Linked DNA regions of Homo sapiens: regions 1 and 3 are each linked to region 2. The links are contacts of gene promoters, found by promoter capture Hi-C in human tissues and cell types (Jung and others, 2019). All regions are on one chromosome and are shown on one strand. Each heading gives the region's core, a stretch centred on a gene start or on the middle of the fragment in contact. The rest is flanking DNA. Distances are from core to core; before and after follow the strand shown. Region 1 has its middle 100 kb from the start of MIR584. Region 2 holds the start of AFAP1L1 (actin filament associated protein 1 like 1). Region 3 overlaps SH3TC2 (SH3 domain and tetratricopeptide repeats 2).

Region 1 (3,690 bases), core at 389-2,888, 310 kb before region 2:
AAAGTGCCCAGAACTATTTCTTAAATAAATGAATGAATTAAAATAAATGACTCTAAGCTGAGCCACCTGCTTTTTACCACCAGGCATTGTGTTTCTCATCTCCATCTGCCCATCAACCTCTGCCTTCATTATGTCTAACAAGGGGTTCCCTACTGCTGTAAAATAAAGAAAGCAGTCTGCCTCAGCCCAGACAGTGACTGGTCAGTCCTACTCATGGCAACTGCTGGTGTCCCCTAACTTCCCAGGAGAAAGTGCAGTCAGAAGCAATAAGGAGTTGTCTACATTTCAGGCTTGTTAGACATTCTCTCCCCCCAAAACGTGTTTTCCTGGTGACTAGGAATGCATTTCAAAGTTAGATTTTTTTTTTTTTTTACCAATTTATACAGCATTCTGAGGCTTGGCTTCCTCTGAGTGAGGCTCCAAATCATTAGAGACCCCGTGGCTAAAAACCCCATAGGAGACATCTTGTGCAGGGTAACCCCAATATGAACAAGCTTATTCTTCAGCTTGCATGCAAATGAGATCCTGGTGGTTCTGTTCAATCAATGGCATCTAGGTATTGAAGACATACTATGTGCCAGTCTGCATCAAATGATTCTGATCTGTGGAGAAGAGTCAGCTTTATCCCTGCCTTTCACAGAAGTGGCCTTCTAGCAGGAATTGTAGAATTAAGCAACTTATTACAATTATTCAATGACATGCAATGAGATGCAAGCTGAGGAGGATCCCTGAGCACCCTGAAGCTCCCTAGAGTGATGGCAACAGAGCCTGGGACTGAAGTACCTATGGGCTGAGAGAGGACAGTTTGGATGAGAGGTGGAGGTGCTAGGTGCCAAGATAGCTCAGCCTGAGTGTCCTGGCCTGAGTCAAAGTGGCTGCCCTAAAGCTGTGACCTTTGGCCTGAGAGCTAAAGGATGTGTAGGTGTTCACCAGGCTAAGGAAGGGAGAGAGTGTGTGCAGATGCAATGTGTGTGTGCACAGGTATATGTGTGTGCATGTATGTGTGTGCATATGCATGTGAGCATGTGTATGCTACAAGTGTATTGTGTGTGACGCATGTGTCCATGCATGTGTGTGCATGTGTAAGAGCATCTGTATGCCACAAGTATGTTGTTTGTGCATGTGTATGTTACAAGTGCATGTGTGTGTGGGTTGCAGATGCATGTATGAAAACATAGATGCCACGAGTATATTGTCCATATGTGTATGTCCATGTGAGAGCATATGCAGGTGCATGTATGTGAGCATGTGTGTACAAGTATATTGTGTGTACATGTGTGTGCACGTGTGTATGAGTGTACATATGCCACAAGTACATGTGCGTGCAGGTTTCAGGAGCATGTATGTGTGTATGTGTTTGTGTGTCCCAAGTGCCTGCGTACCACTTATAGACACTCTTCAGCCTTTACATCTCCTTCCTATCACAAGGCAGTCATTGCGAAGTGGATTTCAAGCCTTCTCCATATGGTGCAGTGTTTCCAAGCCTCTTTTGGATCATGGATCATTTCAATTAACAACATAACAACAACAGCTATTCCATATTAACTGCATGGCAGTCATTGTGCCAGACATTTAATGTGTGTTCTCTCATTTTCTTCTCCAGCAAACCCAAGAGGCAGGCCTATGGTTATTGTTCCATTCTACAGAAGAAGAAACACAGGCTCAGGGAGAGGAAGGCTCTTTCCCATGGTGGCCCTGAGCACAGGTCTGTATGATCCAAAGTATATGCTCTAATCCACTAAACTCTTTCCTGCCACCAGAGCAAGTGACACACCAGATTGACCTTATAGCAGGTCCCCCTCCCACTGTTAACTACAACATTCTCCTAGCAGTGAATGAAAAGTATTCAATGAAGTTCTGTTCCAGCTCAACCACTGATTCACTGTGTGACACTGGAAAAGTCCCCCATTCTTTGTTGCCCTGGAGCTTGCTGAGCTCTATCACTCTACATGAAGCGCTTAACACCACCATCCACAGATGGCAGGCAGGTTAAATAATCTCATGAAATCCCTGTTTCCTCATCGCTAAAATGGAGCTAACAATGGTGCACTCCTGATAGTACTGTGGAGGGATTGACCAAGCTCATGTGTGAAGAATGCTCAGCCCTGTGACTGCCTCACAATGTATGCCCAATAAACTGCAGCTGTCGCTGATGCTGAGAACACAGGAGAGCCAGAGAGCTGAGAGCACCAGCTTGGGAATCAAGTGGACCTGGATTCAAATGATTAAAATGCTCACTTTGCCTTCTAATGGCCGCGTGACCTTGGCAAAAGTTATTTAGCTGTCAACTTTTCCTTGCTTGTAAAATAGGAATTAAAATAGCACCTACTTCATAGGTGTGTTTGAGGAATACATGAGATAATACACATAGCATTGCCCTATGAATGTTAGTTAACATCATTACTATTTGCACACATTGAGTAATATTATAAATAAGGATTATGTGGGGTCTAATTTTGTTCCAGTTCAAGGTTTTAGAAAAAAATAAATAGAGGTATCTGGTTTGGTCAGATTTACTAGACATTGTACTGTTTGTAAAAAATTTAAAAGAAAAAAAAAAACCGGACCTGTCTCATGGGTCAATAGAAAGTCAATTTCCTTTTGGCTGAGGCCAGCGATTCTGTGCAGTTTATTCTGGTGCTGGCTGGCGGTTTGGTTAGGTTCAAGGCCATGACCATGAGTAAGTGATTCACTCTTGCCAAAAACTGCAATCATGGTCATATTCTAAATATTTATACTAAAAGAAACCAAACCTGCTCCACCTTTAGGGGTCACAGGCACCACTCCCTCACATACTGGAGTTCATTCATTCATCCAACTCAGGCTTATTAACCATTCACCTCATGCCAGACACCAGGCACTGGTCATGCTGGTGGCTAATGGGACAGAAACCTGCTAGCAGCTTTGGCCAATTTTGGAGAAACAACCGAATCAGGGCCCTCAATGATGGTAGCTGCACCTGGGCTGTGCAGGCTCCTACAGAGAATGCAGGCCATCTGTTTGGTGCATATCACAATGTGGTCTGTTCCAGCTGGGAAAGGCACTTGGGGATCATCTCAGGCAACACACACCCTTTACAGCCACTGAGATCTCACAGCTGAGCTAAGATCCTGCTATTCTGACTCCTAGATCAGCACCTCTCCCTCCCTCCTAGATGCCCCAAGATTTCCTCCACTTCATACAGAGCAGGCGGTCTCCAGACATTTTAGCTCACAAACGACTTCAAACATAGTGGTAATGAGAATTGAAAAAGTAATACCACTCGTAACAGTATCTTTCACTTACTGGGTGATTTCTGGGTGTCAGATTCTTCGTTAAACATTTTATATGGTATGCCTCATCTAACATTCAAAGAACATTATTGGTTAGGTCATTATTATCCCATTGTACAGAAGAGGACACTGAGGTTCAGAGAGGAGAAGGGATTTTCCTATGTTAACACAGCTAGAAGTTGCAGAACTTAACTTCATCTGACTCCAAACCCAGTGCACACCGCCACCACACAATATCCCCTCAGTGGGATGCACAGCACAAGGGACCTGCCCTCCTGTATCCTCCTCCTGTGCTTACCTGGCCAGCAACAGTTTGATGTCTGCAGCTAGGAGGGAGGAAGAAAGAGCAGCAGGTGGGCAGAAAAGAGGCTTCAAATCTAGTCCTTGGCTTTAGCACCCACTAAAATCCAGGACTATA
Region 2 (3,701 bases), core at 824-3,323:
ACCCCGTCTCTACTAAAATACAAAAAATAATAATAATAATAATTAAAAAATAAAATAAAATACAATTTATGGCCTTGTTTCCAAGTGTTCAGAGTTCAAACAATAAACTTTTAAAACTTAATCCACTGGTAAATTGTTGGTTGGCTGCTTTAGAATTGAAACTGACCTTTTCAAATTGGAAAAGGGGACAGCAACAAAAAGGAACTCAGAAAATAATAATGGCTCATATTTTATAGCTGTTTGTGGTTTATAAAGTGGGTTTGTATTATTTCATTTGCCCTACCAACAGTCCTGTGAGGACTTACAGTATGAGGCTTCCCATAGCACAGATGAGCAAGAAAACCTCATTGACGAAAAGTTATTATACTATGTAGTATTTAGATTGGAGCAAAAGTAATAGCGTTTTTTGCCATTACTTTCAGTGGCAAAAACCACTATTACTTTTGCACCAAACTAACAGAACAAGAGCCATGCACAAGTTTTCATACACTGTTCACAACATCACATTTGGTCTGAGTGCTCACACACACACACACTAAATTACTGATGCAATATTTTAAGAAAATGTTAATTTTAATTTGCCCATAAAAGCAATAGAGAAAATATTCCCGGCCAGGCTAGGTGGCTGGCGCCTGTAATCCCAGCACTTTGGGAGGCCGAGGCAGGTGGATCACCTGAGGTCAGGAGTTCGAGACCAGCCTGGCCAACATGGCGAAACGTCGTCTCTACTAAAAATACAAAAATTTGCCCGGAGTGATGGTGGGCGCCTGTAATTCCAGCTACTCAGGAGGCTGAGGCAGGAGAATTGCTTGAACCCGGGAGGCAGAGGTTGCAGTGAGCCGAGATCGCGCCACTGCACTCCAGCCTCGGCGACAAAGGGAGACTTTTCAAGAAAAAAAAAAAAGAAGAAAAGAAAATATTCCCAGTCCAGGAAAGTACAGGAGGGTCTTTCCCAGGCCTTTTGTTGCCTCCATACCTCTGTGGTAGCTGTTCCCTGTTCCAGAATGTTCTAAGTAGGGAACAGTGGTCAGCTCAAAGCTGAAAACCATGGCCTGGCCCATGGTGGGAGGAGCAGTGTCTAGGAGAACAATTGGTCCTGGACTTTATGAAGGGTCTTAAAGTCAGACATTTGATATTGTGTATAAATGAGTGAGACCTATTTTCACAGGGATATACTAATAAGGTGAAGAAGTTGACATTCTTCATACAGCTTTAAACTTAGATCCCATTACTGTTCCACACTGGTCATAGCAATATTTTCTACAATCTTGCGAAAAGTACACTTATATTGCACTGTATTTTGTATGCTAAAAGTATTCATTTCCACATTTTTTATCACCCTGTTCTGCATGTTTTCACGTGTTACTCATTTTTCTATTCTTTTTCTGAATTCTCCCAGATCCTCGTTATGTTTTCACGTTTTAGTACACAAGGAACCTCAAAAGTTGAAAGTGTCCCAAGCCCTTGCCCACCTTTCAGCAAGCCTCTCTTTCTCCCTTTCCCAGGTGCTTTTCTTTCTGAAGATCTTTGTTATTATTTAACTCCTCTTTCGCAACACCACTGACATTGCACCGGCATCGCCGCGGGCCCACTGTCTGGCTTAGAAGGTGCTCAAGAAAGACCCGCGGCGAATGGAGAAGACAAGCCCAAAGCCAGGAAATGGGTGGCGGCTGCAGGGAAGGGGGTTTTGATTCCCTAGGATAAAAACGCGCTCCAACAGTCTCCGCATTCCGGCATGGAGCCGGCTGAGGGGTGCGGTGGTAAGACCCCATCGCTAGCGGAGTGCAAGCAAAGCCGCACACCTCCTGGGTCCGGGCTGGGGCAGGCCGCGCGGGCGCGGGAACGAACGCGTGCGGACGGGGAAAAGGGTCCTCCAAGCCCAAGTGGGAGCGCCGCGGAGGGCGAGCGAGCGGCAGGGCGCGGCGGGGCGTGTGCGGCACCACGGGACAGCGGGCTGCGGCCCAGGGGGCGAGGCGTGCTCGGGTCTATTCCGGGAGCGGCTCTGAGGGGCGGGCGCGGGCGCGGGCGGGGCGGGGGCTGCCGGCGAGCATCCTGTCTGGGGGAGGGGACCGCAGAGAGCGCCGGCCGCTGGGCTGGCCTGAGAGCGCAGCGCGCCGGCCGCTACCAGCCGCGCCGGAGCCCCTGCGCCCTGCGGCCCGCTCCCCGGGGACCGGGCCGGCGCCATGGACCGAGGCCAGGGTAAGAGGGGCCGCGACGCCCGCACTTGTTGCGGCGCCGGGCGGGAAAGGGAGACTGGACGATCTGAAGCCGGAGAGGAGGAGGGAGAGAGGCGGGCGGTGGGGCGGGGGCTGAGGAACGCTCGGAGGGGACTGGGAGACGCGGCGCTTATGCAAAGGTGCCTTCGGCTGCCGGGACAACCCGGTGCGTGTCAACGCCCGTGTCCTGGGGCCAACTCGCCTCTCGTGTGTGAAATCAGAGTTTTCATAGGCTAACGATTTGTAACTTCATAAAAGATCCCCCTCTAGTTTCCGGAGGACAGCGAGCTCCTCCCACCTCATTCCACTCTAAAGGGGAAAACAAGGTGTACAGGTTCAACTCCCGAAACACCCGCTGTGGGCAGCCCCTAGGGAGAAGCTCTAGGGGACCGAAGTTTGCAGCTGCCTAGGGCATTGCGAGAAGGAGGAGCGCCGTGAGCAGGCGCGCGTGTGCATGCATGTGTGCGCCAGGGAGGGAGGAGGCGGGGGTGGTTCTATCCCGCACCAGCTGTGTCCTCGGCCCAGCCCTTCTCTCTGGACCAGCGACAAAGTTGGACTAGATGGTCTCCAAGGCACCTTGCCGACCCTTTTCCAGTGTATTTGGTAGACGTTTCACAGAAGTGGAGGGGACTTACTGAAATTGAGATTGACATAAGCCGAGAGGGCAGCATTCGTAGGGGGCTAGCGCACATTTTTTTCTGTTTGTTTTGTTTTGTTTGAGACGGAGTTTCGCTCTTGTTGCCCAGGCTGGAGTGAAGTGGCGCGATCTTGGCTCACTGCAACCTCCGCCTCCCGGGTTCAAGCGATTCTCCTACCTCAGCCTCCCGAATAGCTGGGATTAGAGGCATGCGCCACCACACCCGGCTAATTTTTGTATTTTTAACAGAGACGGGGTTTCACCATATTGGCCAGGCTGGTCTGGAGCTCCTGACCTCAGGTGATCAGCCGGCCCCGGCCTCTCAAAGTGCTGGGATTACGGGCGTGAGCCACCGCGCCCGGCAGCGCACATTTTAAGTAAAGGTCTAGACATGGCCTTTGGCAATGGCCAGATGGGCATGTGTGTGTCTGTAAAGAAGTGGCCTGCTTGGACATGTGAACAGTGTCAGAGGCTGGGAATCAGAACCCCAGGGTTTCAGTCTGCACCTCTGGGATCCAAAGAGATCACAGGTGTGACGGCACTAGATAAACTAGTGAGTGCTGTGCCAACAGGCGAAGTGTTGTTGTTGTTGCTGTTATTAATAATGGAAAATTCATTCCCCTCCCCACGATAATCTCACACCTCTCCCCCATCTGCCTGTTTGCTGTGCTGAGCCCCCGAAGGGAGGAAAAAAAGAAGGGAACAGGGGCATGGGAGCAATTAGCAGGCACTGGGGCAGGGATGAGCCGGGAGCAGGTGTGGGGTAACCTCCCTTACTCCTGTTAAACGGAAAGTCAGGCTTGGCGAGCTCAGAGGGCCAGAGGGGACTCCTGGCTTCCAGTTCAACC
Region 3 (3,818 bases), core at 1,004-3,503, 280 kb before region 2:
AGGAGTAGCAATTCTGGATCACTTTGTAAGTGTATGTTTAATTTATAAGAAACTATCAAAGCATTTTCCAAAACAGCTGTTTCATTTTGCATTCCCAGCAGCAATAGCCACTTTTATTTTTCAATGTGTGGAATGTCATTTTTATATAGATTTGGCCCACTATCATATCTCCATTAGGGCTCAAAAGACTTCATGTCTGTGCTGGGAGCAAAGTAACCTATAGATACCACTCGATCATTTTTCTGACATGAGACTTACAGAGTATCATCTCTAGGGTGATTTTTGAAAAACACATAAATGCAGAATCTTGGTGTTTAAAAGGAAATTAGAACTCATTAGTTCAACTTCTTTAAGTAAGGCTGTTTTGATCCAATTATAATCAATTTTCACTCACTAAGGCCCTGCTTAATAGCCTATTTTACTGCCCGTGTGAACTTGGGTATGTTACATAACTGCCTTAAACCACAGCTTCTTCATCTCTGCAGGGTTTTTGTAAGAACAAGAGAAAAAAAATGTATCTGAAATCAGAAAGCAATTAAATATTGTGCTAATTAAAAAACAGACATTGCTAGTGACTGTTCTAAAAACCTAATAGCACAAATCATGTGATTACTAAATGTTAGAACTAAAAGAACCTTAGAGATCTTCCATTAGGTCCCAGCTCTAAATGATAGACTTAGTGAGAAAACGGAAGCCCTGGAAAGCCAAGGTAACCCCACTCACTCCCTATTACATCTCCTTGTCTTACTTTTATCATAGCACTCATTTTTCTGCTGTTTCTCTGACCCTTTGTGAGTTAAGATCTGCCAGGGTAGCAACCTCCATCAACTACATTGCTTAGAATGCAGTAAGTTCTTAATAAATGCTTGTTGAATTATCATTTTAAAAGTGAACTTCAATTAGATTATTCATACACAACAGGTTTGAGTACATGACAGATACCTTTTTTGACAAATTATTAAGCCACTTGTTAGGGTGACTTGTAGGCATCATAATAAGCCAAATCAGAGCATAAGAATTGCTCAGTCAACCAAATGTGACGAGCCTAAATCCCATTCCCATGCTGTAATCTCCCAGTCCTGTTCTGTCTTGCTCCTCCAAGGGACACGTTGTATAAACAGCATCAAGTGTTAACTTGTTAAAACAGTTACACCCAAAAAATGCTGAGATTATTTAACAATGCAATAATATGAGGTCATATCAAGAATTCCAAGGAGAGGCAGAGTTTTCAAAGACTCCAGTTCAATGCCAGGGAGCTATTGTTTCTAAAATGATTTTTGGAAAATGAAATATTAATTCCCCAGCTAATGTATTTCATGGTAGTTCATTGTGCTTAATTCTCTAATCTGAAATTCTTTATTTTAGATCCATTCCAAAATCATCTTATTAGTCTCACACTTTAGAAGAAATGTGTAAATCAAATGCTTCTAAATTTAATTTGATTTAAATTATTTTAACCACTGTAACCCCTCTGTGGGGAGAGGAGAAAAAGCACATTTTTGCCAATGGTCTTTGTTCTGAACAAAGATTGGTTCTATCTGTCACCATTGGGAATGTTCAGGAATATTCTCATTGGATTGCAAGTGCCAAGAGGACAAGAACTTTATAAGTTTTTTTCATTGATCTATTGCTACAGCCTGGGGCAGTGCCAGGCACATAGAAGGAATCTAACAACTATTTATTGAGTATGTAAGTAAACTTGAGGAGATAAGGTGTTGAAACTCTCCCAGGCCTTATTCATGAGAGATCAGGCTGAGCTTCCAGCTAACATTTCTATCCCACAGCAGACCTGCATGGTCTTTACATCTATAGTCTTGGGCATATTCCATAAGACTTCCACATATTTGGCTGGGTTTCTCACCTATAGCATTTTCAAAGAGTCTCACTATATATAAACACTGAAATAACTAAGTGCCAGGAATGACTACAGAAACAAAGGGAAACCTTATAACGAGTGTGGTGGAGTGATTCAGTGAAGATCATCAGATTAAGACTGAGAAGAACAAAGCTGTGGTCACTCTCCCACCACTTAACAAGCATGGGAAGCTCACCAAGTCATGTCCTCACTCGAGGCCTCATTCAAAATCTGTGTGTGTGTGTGTGTGTGTGTGTGTGTGTGTGTGTGTGTGTGTGTTCTTTAGATCATGAAACTTCTCATCTGAAAATCTCCACTCTGTGGCCCAGAGTAAGCTTACATAGTGAGTGCACCTAAAGGTGAGCCATCTCCACTTTGGCCACTTCTCCAGATACCCACAAGGAAGTGCCGAGAATGCTGTTGCACCTCCTCTGGCCAAGGACAGAGAGTCATATCATCTGCCCACTTGGAGACAGAGAAGGTGACTTACCTAATATTTTTCCTGCATGTCTTAAGGACAAGGCTGGGTTCTTTTGGCCTTACTGGGTAATAAAAACTCTATGCACACAGGCTAGAAGTTGAGTGGTGGAAGATTCAAGAGAACAAGCTAGATTTTATGAAAAGTGGGTAACAAAGCATCTTTACTCCTTCTCCCATGGACATGAAAATCATTATCAAAAATCCTACCCCAGATGGGAATGTTATCTGGTCTTGTAAAGCTGCCTTACTATCTAGTCCCCAAGATAGCCCCAAGTGAACCAGGCTTCCCAGTGCTCATGCCATTGAGTAATCCCCTCCTATACCAGCTCTAGGCTGGCTTTGTATAACCAATAAAATATAGCAGATGTGACACTGTGTGACTTCTGAGGCCAGGTCATAGGAAGCTTTGCAGCTCCCCGTTTAATCTCCTGGAATGCTAGCTCTTGGAATGCACTCTCTTGGAACCAGCCACCATGCTGTAAGACGGCCAAGCCACATGGAGTCGACATGGCTCACGGCTCCAGTTGATCACAGCCCCAGCTGAGCTCCCAACCAACTGCAAGCATCAACTGTTAGCCCCGTGAGGAAGCCATCTTCGATGCCCAGCCCAGAGGAGCCTTTGATGACTCCAGCTCTGGCCACTATTGGACTGCAACAACAGTAGAGAACCCAAGCGAGAATTGCCCGGGTGAGCCCAGTCAATCCATCAGACCAACAGATGATGATAAGCTGTTTTAAATCAGAAACTTTTGGGGTGGTTTGTTATGTCACTTGTTCCACCTCATGGTTCAAAAACACGATCCCCATAACTTTAATGTTTAAGGGTTATCACTTTGCTTTCTTCTTTGGATTTGAGATGTCATTTGCAAGCAACCTTCTCTCTCACTCAAAATGTTTCCCTTATCTGGTCTAGTTGTGCCCTACTGAGCCCAGACATGAAGGAAATAAAAAAACAACCACCAACCACACACTCATATAACACACACAACACACACAAAACAATGTCTTGGATTGTGGAAGAATTTGCTATTGTCATTGTTTTTTAACGTATTTTCTTTATATTTCCTTGAGTTCCTTTTGGAGTCATTGAATTCCCTTTTTGAGTCTTTTTTCCAAGATTACAGGCTCAAGTCATGGGTTTTAAAAATAGCCATAATCTATTAACGACCTATTACATTCCAGCCACCATGCTAACTGCTTTAGACATATTAATTCATTAATTTTACAATAACTTTGCTATATAGGTATTTATTATCCCCATTTTACAGTTGAAAGAGCCATAGCTCAGAAAGATAAAGTGATTTGTTAATGCTACACAGATACTAAGCACTTTGAGACAAGATTTGAACCTAGGTCTACCTTAACCAGCATAAATATGGCTGAGGAATATCTGAATTCATTCACATCCAGAAATCACATTGTAGTTGTTGAATCCTTTGGCAGGAGCTATACCTTGGTCAGCAGAACTGTGTACCTTGGAAAA

The links. Contacts are between HindIII fragments. The study calls those that stand out against the background at their distance.
Region 1: a contact is called between a fragment that was not itself captured here and the fragment with the promoter of AFAP1L1 in region 2, in 1 of the 25 tissues and cell types used here (IMR-90 fibroblasts).
Region 3: a contact is called between a fragment that was not itself captured here and the fragment with the promoter of AFAP1L1 in region 2, in 1 of the 25 tissues and cell types used here (thymus).

What each region holds. Positions count from the first base shown.
Region 1 is chr5:148,959,314-148,963,003 of GRCh38, forward strand. No RefSeq gene overlaps it. Among named protein-coding and RNA genes, the nearest start is that of MIR584, 100 kb to the right of the region's middle. The HindIII fragment of the contact is 8,437 bases long and covers 1-3,690 here.
Region 2 is chr5:149,269,786-149,273,486 of GRCh38, forward strand. AFAP1L1 (actin filament associated protein 1 like 1) reads left to right here and starts at 2,074. Exons shown (of 19, transcript NM_152406.4): 1 at 2,074-2,199. The coding sequence starts at 2,184. RefSeq lists enhancers at 2,053-2,592, 2,593-3,134, 3,135-3,674. The HindIII fragment of the contact is 7,342 bases long and covers 1-3,701 here.
Region 3 is chr5:148,985,723-148,989,540 of GRCh38, forward strand. It overlaps SH3TC2 (SH3 domain and tetratricopeptide repeats 2), which reads right to left. Exons shown (of 17, transcript NM_024577.4): 17 at 1-3,818. Among named protein-coding and RNA genes, the nearest start is that of MIR584, 75 kb to the right of the region's middle. The HindIII fragment of the contact is 3,723 bases long and covers 393-3,818 here.